4 separate regions of the Homo sapiens genome follow, and regions 1, 2 and 3 are each linked to region 4. The links are contacts of gene promoters, found by promoter capture Hi-C in blood cells and fetal thymus (Javierre and others, 2016). All regions are on one chromosome and are shown on one strand. The core of a region is centred on a gene start or on the middle of the fragment in contact, and the rest is flanking DNA. Distances in the headings are between cores, read along the strand shown. Region 1 overlaps VAC14 (VAC14 component of PIKFYVE complex). Region 2 overlaps VAC14 (VAC14 component of PIKFYVE complex). Region 3 overlaps HYDIN (HYDIN axonemal central pair apparatus protein). Region 4 holds the start of ZNF19 (zinc finger protein 19).

Evidence for each region. The method cuts DNA at HindIII sites, captures the fragments that hold promoters and counts their contacts. A CHiCAGO score of 5 or more calls a contact.
Region 1: a fragment that was not itself captured here is called in contact with the fragment with the promoter of ZNF19 in region 4 in 2 of 17 cell types (endothelial precursors and megakaryocytes); the score reaches 6.0 in endothelial precursors.
Region 2: a fragment that was not itself captured here is called in contact with the fragment with the promoter of ZNF19 in region 4 in 1 of 17 cell types (erythroblasts); the score reaches 16.8 in erythroblasts.
Region 3: a contact is called between a fragment that was not itself captured here and the fragment with the promoter of ZNF19 in region 4, in 1 of 17 cell types (megakaryocytes). The highest score is 5.8, in megakaryocytes.

Annotation. Positions count from the first base shown.
Region 1 is chr16:70,782,819-70,785,872 of GRCh38, forward strand. It overlaps VAC14 (VAC14 component of PIKFYVE complex), which reads right to left. Exons shown (of 19, transcript NM_018052.5): 3 at 2,884-3,051; 4 at 1,958-2,020; 5 at 1,295-1,402; 6 at 627-736; 7 at 215-321. Among named protein-coding and RNA genes, the nearest start is that of TRG-GCC2-5, 5.2 kb to the right of the region's middle. The HindIII fragment of the contact is 180 bases long and covers 1,715-1,894 here.
Region 2 is chr16:70,694,181-70,697,121 of GRCh38, forward strand. It overlaps VAC14 (VAC14 component of PIKFYVE complex), which reads right to left. Exons shown (of 19, transcript NM_018052.5): 17 at 1,364-1,443. Among named protein-coding and RNA genes, the nearest start is that of MTSS2, 9.6 kb to the left of the region's middle. RefSeq lists enhancers at 1-485, 486-1,311, 1,312-2,138. The HindIII fragment of the contact is 545 bases long and covers 1,234-1,778 here.
Region 3 is chr16:70,806,292-70,809,189 of GRCh38, forward strand. It overlaps HYDIN (HYDIN axonemal central pair apparatus protein), which reads right to left. Exons shown (of 86, transcript NM_001270974.2): 86 at 1-1,771. The coding sequence ends at 1,289. Among named protein-coding and RNA genes, the nearest start is that of VAC14, 6.6 kb to the left of the region's middle. The HindIII fragment of the contact is 3,024 bases long and covers 66-2,898 here.
Region 4 is chr16:71,488,011-71,490,739 of GRCh38, forward strand. ZNF19 (zinc finger protein 19) reads right to left here and starts at 1,314. Exons shown (of 6, transcript NM_006961.4): 1 at 1,262-1,314. The HindIII fragment of the contact is 1,961 bases long and covers 1,083-2,729 here.

The DNA.
Region 1 (3,054 bases), core at 555-3,054, 700 kb before region 4:
ACCTCTGTGTCTCTGTGGTGACAGAACCCAGACCTCCCTCTGTGAGACCCAGCACTCCACCTCTCCCAGGGCCCACTGTCACACTGGCTAATATTCCTACCAGGAATCTCCCCTGCCCCCTCACTGAAGCTGAGATGGTGAAAGGGGCTTCTGCAGAGGTGGCAGTGGCAGCAGCAGTGGCAGCCGTGGCTGTGGGCCCTCCCCCAATACTCACCTGTTGTCTGGCAGTGGATCACCAGGATGTTGGCCATCTCAGCAAACTTCACACTGGAGGGGTTCTTCTTAATTTCTTTTAAGAATTCTCCAAGAACAACCTCACACCTATGAACAAGAACAGGAAAGTGGAAACAGCGAGGGTCAGCCAGGGCTGGAGGAGCCTCAAACCAGCCCCATTTCCGTGCTGGGTCAGCCACCCAGAGGGCGGCTTGGCTTTTGGACTTGTCAGGTGATCATTTTCAGATGCTGGGGGTTGATGGGCTCTTGGCTCCTCAAAGCGGGAAGCACAAGAGCCAGGAAGAAGAGGTGATTTCCTGCCCTCCTGCCGCGGCCTCTCTGTGGGCATGAAGCACATGGGCACAGCTGGGGGTGGCAGGAGGCAGCAGCTTCCTGCCCCTTACTCCACTCACATTTTGCGAATCTCTTTGCCATTGTCACCCAGGATCTGGAAGAGTCCATCCAGGATCTCCGGCAGGTAATCCAGCAGGTTAATGTCTGGCACCGACTCCAGAACCAGGATCTGACCAGGGGAAGGGAACAGGAGGGGAAGTCAGCTCCAGAACCCTGTTTCCTGCTCACCAAGCCTCTGGGACTGGGCTGTAGGAAGGGGACCCTGCTGAGACAGCATTTCCCTGCAGTGCAGGTGTCCCATGTGGGAGGAGGGTGCTGGCAAGGACAGTCAGCATTTCTTGTTTAATGTGCAGGGGAATGGCAATTTGACTCTAAGGAAATTCGGATGCCCAGGGGAGAAGGGGATGGATGGGGAAGGACAGAAAAGGCTAGAAAAAGTGAGATTGCTGGAAGTAGCACTGCTGGCTTTAAAGGAAACTCAGGTGTTTTCTGGGACAAGGAAAGAACTGGACTCCCTTCCAGGGCAACAAGAACCTGATCCCTTCAGGGCCAACATGGTGGGTTTCGGGGGCAAAGCTGAATAAGGTGTTTTTGAATTATCAGGTGTTAATGGCTATTCAAGGGAGAACATGGAGGGTTCCTATAGCCAAAGGGCCTGACAAGAGTGTGCTAGAGAGCAGATTTTCCAAACTGGAGGCTGGAGAAACGGTGTCCGGCCAGGCCTTACCCAGGAGATGATGAACTGCCGGGCATACTGGTTGTTGGAGTAAATCCTCTCTCGCAACAAGGGGATGAAGCTCACCAGGTCAAACTTGTTGCTCTCAGTCACAATGTCCTGTGGATCAGAGGAAAGTGAGCTGCCGAGAGCCCGAGACCAGGGCTGCCTGACCTCGCTGAATCACTTGCCCAGGGCTGGCTCCAGCGCTCAGGCGGCCACCAAGGAAAATGGCAGATCCTGAGCTAGGCATAAGAGGTCTCTGGAGTATTCATCCTGTCCCAGTCCACGGGATACGAAAAACGGGTAGATTGAAAGCAGGAAGCAAAGTCGAGAGAACCAACTGAATGGCAAGACCCTACTCTCTGTGGTCTGGATGGAATGCCCAGGCCCCTGCTGTCAGGGCCAGAGAGGTGTGGAAAGTGACAGGCAAGCTTCTTTGCTCTAGGTGGCGGCAACAAAAGGGGACATTTTGGGTGATGGCACAGTTCTGTATTTGATAGTGGTGATTGAGCTCGATATTCTTGTCATAGAACTGCACACCAGGGAGTACATGTAAATTTAAAATATATTTTAAATTCAAGAAGAACATTCCCAATGACAGAATTTCTAAGCTTTACAGACAGACGGGAGAAACAGATTGTAGAAATAAAAGTGGGGACAAAGTACAAATACCTTTAAAAGGCGGTCTAGGAGCTCAGATCCGCTTTTCACATTGGGGTCTGGGTCGGCTGCCAGCTGCAAGAGGCACAGACAGGGGAGGGACACAGAGGCGAGGGTCACGGTTGGATGCAAGACCAGGGATTTCCTGCAAATCCGCAGCCGAGGCCTTGGTGCAGCCCAGAACATCTAGCAAGAACATCACCCTTTCGGTGAACACATTTGAGAAAGGCTGGGAAAGTGGGAGTGGGTACAATGGAGTTGGCTGAGGAGCAGATTCAGGAAATACCCTTCTGTTCAGGGACTTCTCCCATGACCCGCTGGGGTTCCTGTTCCCTGTTGTGACTGGGTCACGGGGTTGCTTCCCGTCAGCCTTCCCCAGGGGTTTCCAATCTTAAAGCGCTGGGTCCTTGTTCCACTCCTGGAGGAGGGGACAGGGTAGCTGCGAGGCTGATACTCTAGAAACTTCCGTGGCATTCTGCAGGGGCAGCAGCATTGCAGGGCTGCTCCGCGCCTGGGAAGGGAACTCCACCAGGCTGCAAGAGGCACGGAGGAGAGCATGAGCTTTTTCTAGGGCACTTATGAGCTAGACTAAGTGCAGCCCTCCCTAAAGGGAAAGTACGGTCTGGATGATGGCGTCAGCATCATCCCCTTCTACCAGGGAGGCGAGTGTTTCACAGACTATCAGCTTCTTCCCTCTACTGTATGGCAGACTGATACTTATATCAAATGCAATCAAAATGAATTAAAAGAGAAATGAAAAAAGGTATAAATGCAAGTCCATTAAAAATGATTAGATTCAACAGACAGTAAGTGTCCCTTGCAGCCACATGCTTGTTTGCTCTGCTTGCATCTGGGAAAAGGGGTCCAAGGTTCCAGAAGGTCAAGTGAGGTGGGGGAACCAAGCGCAGCTCAGTGAGGAGGAGGAGGAGGGCGGTTACCTTGCTCAGCCCGTCAAAGAGCACGTTGAAGTGGGGCAGCACAGCGCCCCGGGCCACCTTGACGATGTTGTAGAGGGCCTCGCAGGCATAGTAGCGCAGCCTGCTGTCTGCATCATTGAAGCAGGTCAGCACTGGCTCGATCAGCTCCTTCAGGTAGAGCCCTGAGTCCTG
Region 2 (2,941 bases), core at 256-2,755, 790 kb before region 4:
AGAAGGTGCTTGGAGTTCCTCCAGGGTCAGGGAGGGAGGGCAGTCATCCTAGGGATGCTTCTGGAATGCCAAGAATGTACAACTGGAGAGATGAGTCAGGACAGACCAGCAGCAGGAGCAGGGTCTTTTTAGGATCTGACCTCAGGCGGCCGTGTGGGTGCCTGTGTCCCTGGGAGGCCCTCGGGGAAGTGTCACGCTGGGCACACCTGGGACAGGCTTTAGCGCACTCTGCGGAGAGCAGGGTCTCCCCCCTGCTCTTCTGTCTCCAGGGCATCAGTTCCTACGGCACCCTGCTGCTTGATGAGGCTGCCCTTTGAAGGGGGCTCAGGAGGGGATGGGAACGGGTGTTCTTCAGCCCCTGCATTCAATTCAGGCTCCAGGGCTCAGGCTGATGGGCTTAGGCCGGGCGGGTCAGAGACGCTGCCAGAGAGTGGGAGAGGCCGGGTGGCCAGCTTGGCAGGGAAGGTGGCCACCAGCAGAGTGGCCTCCTGGCTTCTCTGCACATTATAAGCACATAAGCGTCATTCAAAGTGTGTATGTTGAGGTGCTGAGAGCTGTGCTCGCCCCAGCCAGCTGCCACTTTTGCACATTCAGCCTGGGTGTTACTAAGCAGGCAGCTCCTGCCCACTGGCTCCCAGCAAATGCCAACTCTTCTTTCAGAGAGGTACAGGCATGGCTCTTGGGCCAACAGGAGCACCTGCAGAGGGACTCGGGACCCACAACTTCAGAGAGCCAGAGCAGAGGCAGCAGACCCGGAGGGGTGGCTGGGGACAGCCCAGGGGCCTGGTATCAGCCTTCAAGGGGGTTCTGCTGTCAGCGCTGGCTCATGTCCAGGAGACTCACTGTGAGGGATACAGGCAGGATCCAGGTTCTGATGCCACGTGCCCCAGCCCTGCTCTGGCTGGCCTTGCAGGCCTATCATCCCAGTCTTTTTTTTTTTTTTTTTTCTGAGGCAGGGTCTTGCTCTGTCACCCAGGCTGGAGTGCAGTGGTACAGTCACAGATCACTGTAGTCTCAACCTCCTGGGCTCAAGTGATCCTCCTACCTCAGCCTTCTGAGTAGTGGTGACTATAGGCATGCACTCTCATGCCTGGCTAATTTTTAAAAAATTTTGTGCAGATGAGATCTCACTATGGTGCCCAGGCTGGTCTCGAACTCCTGCCGTTAAGAGATGCTCCAGCCTCAGCCTCCAAAGTGCTGGGATTATAAGTCTCACATTCTCAACATTCCAGAAGCTTCCCTGGGGTGACTGCTCTTCCTCCCTCCCCAGCCAAAAGAGACCAACTGGAGCTTGACTTCACCCACCCCACTCCAGGGCAGCCTTGGACTCATGGCGCGAGGTGTGGTGGGAGGTGGTTCTTACATGTGAAGATGGGGCACTCAATCAGCTGCACCAGCTTGTCCACCTCTGCGAGGAAGTCCACGGTGACCTCCAGGTCCCCACTGGGTGTGCAGTCAAGGAAAGTCTGTCTGCTGGGCCAGCACAGCCGCAGCTCACAGCACCACACGCCCTCCCCCCCTGCACCTGGCTTCCTGTGCACAGAGCCTGGTTGTGGTGAAGCAGGATTTGGCGCACAAAGGACACCAGGCTCTTCCCTGTTCCTCGCCTTTCTGTCCTAAATGGAACTCCCCTGTTCAGGAGTTCCAGGTTCCACTCTAGCAGCTGTCTCCTCTGCACCCTCCCGGGCTGGGAGAGGCTCTTATCACAGCGCTGCAGCCCGTTGGGGGAGGGCTGGGCAGGAAGGGTTCTCTCCTTTCCTGCCAGCAGGGCTGCAGCAAGCTTGCGGCACTGGGCAGTGGCCTGCCAGTCTCTGGGTGACAGAAGTGGCTGAGAGGAGCAAATCCAGGTTGTAGAAGGGAAGCAGGCACACTGTGGGGAGCCAGGCAGGGCCACACCTAGCCCTCCACTGAGGCACCTCCTGGTCCCTTCTTCCTTACTCCCAACTCCTGGCTGGTCATGTTGCCTTCTAAATAGCACTCCAATCCTGGGTTACATGTCAGGCACCCATGGATGGGGCTAGTTTGCTTACTGGTGTTTTAAAAAAAATCTGGCCAGGCGCGGTGGCTCACACCTGTAATCCCAGCACTTTGGGAGGCCGAGATGGGCAGATCGCTTGAGGTCAGGAGTTTGAGACTAGCCTGGCCAACATGGTGAGACCCTGTCTCTACTAAAAATACAAAAATTAGCCGGGCATGGTGGTGAACGCCTGTAATCCCAGCTACCTGGGAGGCTGAGGCAGGAGAATCACTTAAACCCAGGAGGCGGAGGTTGCAATGGGCCAAGATCGCCCCACTGCACTCCAGCTTGGGTGACAAAGCAAGACTCCACCTCAAAAAACAAAACATCTAACTCTGGATGCCTTTTGATGAGCGCAGTGCTGAGGTGAGAATGGGTGCCTCCTGCTTCTGAGGCCTCTGCCCAGCCTGCTTCTCCCCAGTGTGTCATCCTCAAGCCTGTCGGGCTCTAGCTCTGTGGCCCCCGAAGGCCCACGCCTGGGCTGAAGCCTGCAGGCTCACCCAGCCATCCACCCATATTCCCAGCTCCAGGCCTTCTCCCCCACCCCCACACCAGGCCCAGGAGGAACTACAATGAGCAGAGGGCAGCCACCTTCTCCCAGGGGCAGGAGCTGGGGTTCTCTCCCACCCCAGCAAGATGGTCCAGCATCACCCGCTGGCACCTGCCGGGCTGGGCCTACTCAGTCCCAATCCCAACCCACAGGGTTTCTCCCGGGCCAGCTCCCCCTCCAAGAGCCCCTCTTTGCTGCCAATCTCGCTCTCCCAAATACGTCCCTCCCCTCCCAGTGTCCTGGCAGCCCTGATGTCACAAGCCCTGAGGCTGAGTGGAGGGGTGGGGACAGGAGCATGGCACTTGGGCCCGCCTGTTGGGTGGAAAGGGGGCAGCCGGCCCCTTCCTGCCCCTCAGAGGCTCAACCCCAACCAC
Region 3 (2,898 bases), core at 328-2,827, 680 kb before region 4:
AATGTATCCCCTGAGGATGAGGGAGGACTATTGTAAAGGTCTGTGTTTACAGACATTCTAGAAAAAGCTTTTTTGGTCCTAGAGTATACTGGGCTAGGGTTGTGGGGAGGTACAGAAGAAGGAGAAGAGTCTCCCTCCATGAAAGCCACCTCTGACAGGTATAAGGACTTGCTAAAAGATTGCCGGGCCACACCTACAGACTTTTTGATTCAGTCGATCTGACATGGGGACTGAGAGTTTGACTTTTAATAAATTCCCAGGTGATAGTACTGCTGCTGGCCCAGGGACCATTTTTAAGACCCACTTCTTTACGGCATTCATTCCCAAGAGGCCATCTTCTTCCAGTCTCCTGCCCCTCTTGTAGGAGGGCTGTGGGGGATGAGTGTGGGGAGCAGGTAGAGGCAGGGGGACCCTCCGTCAGAGGTGTATGTCTGCAGAAGCAAACCCATGCCAGGGCCAGACTTTAACCATCTGCTATACAAGTTAAATGTATATAATAAAGATGCCCACACCCCTCTCCAGACCAATTACATCAGATGGGGACTGGGCACGTTCAGAGTGAGAGTTAGGTGGTCCTGATGTGCAGATGGGTTGAGAATCCCTGCTCTCCTGCTGAATGCTATCCAAGGCGGGGTGTGTATGTGTGGTGGGGGGAGCTGGGATCTCTATTAGCCTTTCTCCAGGGCCTAGACTTCAGTGAGAACTTTCTGTGTAGGGCAGATGTGGGATTCGGACACTGATGGTATAAAAGCCAAGAGAAAAAGTGATGGGAGTGTCCCTGGATTGCCCTAATGTTATCTGCTCATCCCTCTGAAAATATTTATTTGGCTTTTATGTGAAAGCAGAATAAAATGCCACATCAAAATAGTCATGTCTAAGGGCTTTTTAAACCATTTTGGATTTTAAAAAGAAACTGCAGTACCCAGCGTCACGCATTGCTAAGTGTTGTAGAGTAGAAGGTCACTAGTGTGATACCTGTGCCTTCTTGATAAAAATGGGAATTATTACAAAGTACTTGAGCTTTGGGGCTATGTCAAGAAACTCAATTTAGGGACTCACAAGGATTCAGTTGTCTAAAATATAGAGCTGTTGTGTGTAGTTATAATGTTTAATATGGAATAGATATTTCATATCTATATTTGGAAAACACATAATAGGGAAATAACTGCCCTATAATTGTATGAGAAGAATAAAAACAGTTCCTTTAGAATTCTTATTGTTTTCTCTATTCTTTTTCAGGCTAAGACAATGCATAGCTTTTGGTTGATACAGGTAACCCTGGTTACCACTAAAGGGTGATCCCCTTCAGATAATAAACCCATTTAACTCCAGTCTCACTCCCTTCACCAGGAGGGCAGCTCACAGTCAGCTTGGTGGTGATGGGGGTTTTGCTGCCAGATGGGTTTCCTTCAAAGGAGACTGTGATGTTGTTGATCTTCTTGGGCCGCACAGACTCTCCAGCGCGAATGGTGAAGGCTGGGTTATCCACGATGATGGAGAAGGTCACCATGTGATAGAAGACATTCTTGAAGGGGATGATTATGCTGTACCCGGCTCGGATCGAGAAGGGACCTTGGGGCTTGGGAGGCAGAGCCATTCCAAAGAGGGGGATGATATACTCTCCACCTGCGAGCGATGATAGGATCAGGATGCCCTTGGTCTCACCCAGGTGGCTGGGCTCGAATAAGACTTCCACACTGGCTTCAGTGCCTCCCTGGCCTCCTGGGGCTGCATTAATGAGTTTTTCTGCGTGGAAGTCTGTACAGTCGGTCTGAAAGGGGAACAAACAAACTCAGCTCACGTGAGATCCTGAAGAGCACACCAGGAGCTCAAGTCTACCCCAGCCCCTCCACTCCTGGACATCAAGCAACTATGTCTGTGTGAGACTGGGAATGTTATAAAGTTGTGTCCTTATAACTCCCTTGTAGGGTAGGTATTACTAATTATTATTTCTATTTTGCTACAAAGAAACAAAGGCAAAGAGATGTTAATAATGTGTACTGAGACACACAGCCACATTACGTTAATAGGGCAGTCATGGATGCTGATCCCCTATATTCGGTTCTTTCCTTCCATGTACATGGAAGACCAAACATTCTGGTTCCTTGCAGATGGGTGGTGCTAGTTCCAGACAACTAGCTGTGAGCAGAAGTGAAAGGTGTCACTTCCATGCTAGAGCCTTTCATTGCCAATTTAACTCCTGTCAGGGTCCTTTCACCACTCTAATACTGTACTGGAAATATTTGAGATGGTGCTTGAATCCCAAGAGACTGAGATGAGCAGGGTCCCCTGCTGGCCTCTCTGGAAAATTGCTCAAATGAGAAACAAGCCTTCATCTTAAGCCCCTGTGATTGCTACTGCACCTAACCTAGCATCTCTTGGCTGATACAACTGATCAAGAGCCTCTGCCTCTTGGCTACAGCCACAAGATCTCTGATTTTACCTGGGCATGTGACTGCCCAGTACAAAAGCTACCTTTCCTAGCTCCTTTGTTGATAGGTGTGGTCCTGTGAAGTTTTGTTCCATGGAATATTAGTAGAGGTGATATATACAACTGTCCCCTCTTCCCTTGTAGCTGGCTGGAATGTGGATGTCCTGATAAACCATCTTGGCCCACGTGGACCAAAACAGCTCCCTTCAGAGGGCAGAGCATCGGGACAGAAGATGTCTGGGTGCCTGGTGTCAGCGAGCTGCCATTCCAGCTCAAACTGCTTATGCCCAGACTGTTATTTGTGAGAGAAACCAACACCTAATTTGCTGTTATTTGTGGTTTCTGTTTTTTAGAATTTTATTTTATGTTTTTAAATAGAGATGAGGTCTCGCTATGTTGCCCAGGCTGGTCTTCAACTCCTGGCTATAGCGATCTTCCCACCTGAGCCTCCCAAAGTGCTAGGATTG
Region 4 (2,729 bases), core at 64-2,563:
TACTATTTAACATCATATTGGGAGTCTTAGCAAGAGCAAGGCCAGAAAAAGAAATAAAAGGCACATAGGTCAGACACAGTGGCTCACACCTGTAATCCCAGCACTTTGGGAGGCCAAGGTGGATGGATTGCTTGAGGCCAGGAGTTCAAGACCAGCCTGGCCAACATGGAGAAATCGCATCTCTACTAAAAATATAAAAATGAGCCAGGTGTGGTGGTGTGTGCCTGTAATCCCAGCTACTCAGGAGGCTGAGACATGAGAATTGCTTGAACCCGGGAGGTGGAGGATGCAGTAAGCTGAGAATATGCCACTGCACTCCAGCCTGGGTGACAGAACGAGACTATCTCAAAAAAAAAAAAAAAAGAAAAAGAAAAAGAAATGAAATGAAAGACACACAGATTCGAAACTCAGAACAAAACTGTTACTATCTGCAGGCAACATGATTATCTGTATAAGAAGTCCCAAAGAATCTACAAAACAAGCTCCTAAAATTAAAAGTGAGTTCAGACTGGTCACAGTGGCTCACGCCTGTAATCCCAGCACTTTGGGAGGCCGAGACAGGCGGATCGCCTGAGGTCAGGAGTTTGAGACCCGTCTGACCAACATGGTGAAACCCCGTCTCTACTAAAAATACAAAAATTAGCCGGGTGTGGTGGCAGGCACCTGTAATCCCAGCTACTCGGGAGGCTGAGGCAGGAGAATCACTTGAACTCGGGAGGCGGAGGTTGCAGTGAGTAGAGATGGTGCCATTGCACTCCAGCCTGGGTGACAAGAGCGAGACTTCGTCTCAAAAAAACCAAAACAAACTAACAAAAACATAAAAACACTATGGGACAATGGCATTTGTTTGGACACAGGTCTCCAAATCTGCCTCTTCAAAAGAAACAGACACTGCAACTGCAAGAGCCTTGGTTAAAGACTTAAGCCGGCCCCAACTAAGAGTGGGGATGGCTTCCCTAGGAGGTAGGAATCAGCTGGAGTCCTTGCCTCTCCTGGTGCCCAGGCAGTGCCATCTGCAGACACTTCTGTCATCCTCCCATCCTTGGGGGGCTCTTTCTCCAGCTCCAGTTCGTGAGCGGCAAAGCTTGCAGCTGTACAGCCTCCAAGAGCAAACAGCCCAGGTCCCACCCGGCCACAATTGTATAGTGACGCCCTCCCCGTCCCCTTCTTTGAGCTGCGCTCAAAGGACCAGCCTGGACTGCTATGCTGTCTCACTCCCAACCCAAGCTCCGCCCAACTGTGGGTCCTTGCACTTTGGCACCTTTGAGCGCGGACTCAAAACAGGCCAGAAGCGCACCGCTAGCGAGAACGGTTAGGAGGCCGGAAGTGCGTCACGCTTGTGGGGCGCTTGGAGGCCAGAAGTGCGTCATGAGCACGGCTGCTCTTTCTACGGTGCAACTTTTCCGCATCTCGGTGTTTCCGATTGGGAGACATCCTCTTCCTTTCCTTGTACACACTTTTTTCTCTCCTCAGGAACCTCACGCCTGGGTCATTGTCCATTTGGGTGGGTCAAGAAAGCGATCGCTTCTGCCCGGGAGCAGTTGATTGTCAGGAAGGAATTCGTGATAAAACCGCCATCACCACAGGCCTAGATGGTGGCCGGTGTTTCCTGGTTGCTTACTGGTCTTTCTGAGTTCTGGTTCACTCGCAGTGAATCAACTTCCTTTCACAAGCTCTGCCACTCACGGGCCATTGAGGAAGACCCTTGTGTCTCTGAGCAGCTTTTGTCTTCTGTAAAATGAGCCAGTCAGATTATACCATTCAAGCTGTCTTTAATTCCATGCACTGTAACCTCCAATGGTTTGCCACTACCCCTGGAGTCCAAGTCACCATTCAAGGCTCCTCAGACCCTTGCCCTCCTTCCCCTCTAAATGATAAAGAAAATGCCAAAAGCGCAGGGCATATGGGCTAAGAGAGATAGCTCTAAAGTGTTAGTGCCTGTGGCTTTCTGGGTCCACAAAAGAGAACTCTGGCCAGGATTTTGCTGGACTGTCAAAACGTTTGTGATCACTGTCACAGAATTACAAAACAAACTGGGGACTTAGAGCTTCTTAGTCCCATCTCCTTTACAACAGTATGACATAGTGGTAAGGAGCACAGCCTGGCATCAGGATGCTTTGTTTCAAAGGCCAAAGGACCACTCTGTGACCTTTGGTGCATTACTTAACCTGTAAGTGTCACATTTATTTCTAAAACTAGGATAATAATAGTATTTATTCCCCGGATTGTTGTGAGGATTAGATGTTAGTACATGTAAATCAGTACAATGTCTAGCACATACTAAACACTCACTAGATATTAGTAATTATTACACTCACTAGATATTAGCGATTATTAATAGCTTAGGAATTGAGCCTGAATAGGCTCTGGAGTTAATCCAGTATTCAATCTTTTTATTAAAACCTTTGAAAATGGTTATAAACCTCAGTGGGTTTGGGCATCTGTACACTTTTTACTACCAGACTAGATAGTATAAGCAAAGCCTGGTGGCAGTTCAGGGTTGGTTCTTAGAAGATCAGAGTGCTAAAATAGCTAGCTCATCATGAGCTGAGGACTTCCAGGATGACTAGTTGGACTTGCTGTTCAGTTGGGACTTCAGCAACACAAGTCCAGACAAATGGGACCATGATCCAGGTCTTCAAGAGCAACCCTCAGGCTTTCTGCAGAGTGTAAACTCCTCAAGAAAGAGGCTTTTCTATCTTGTCCATGACTGTATCCTGAGTTTCTAG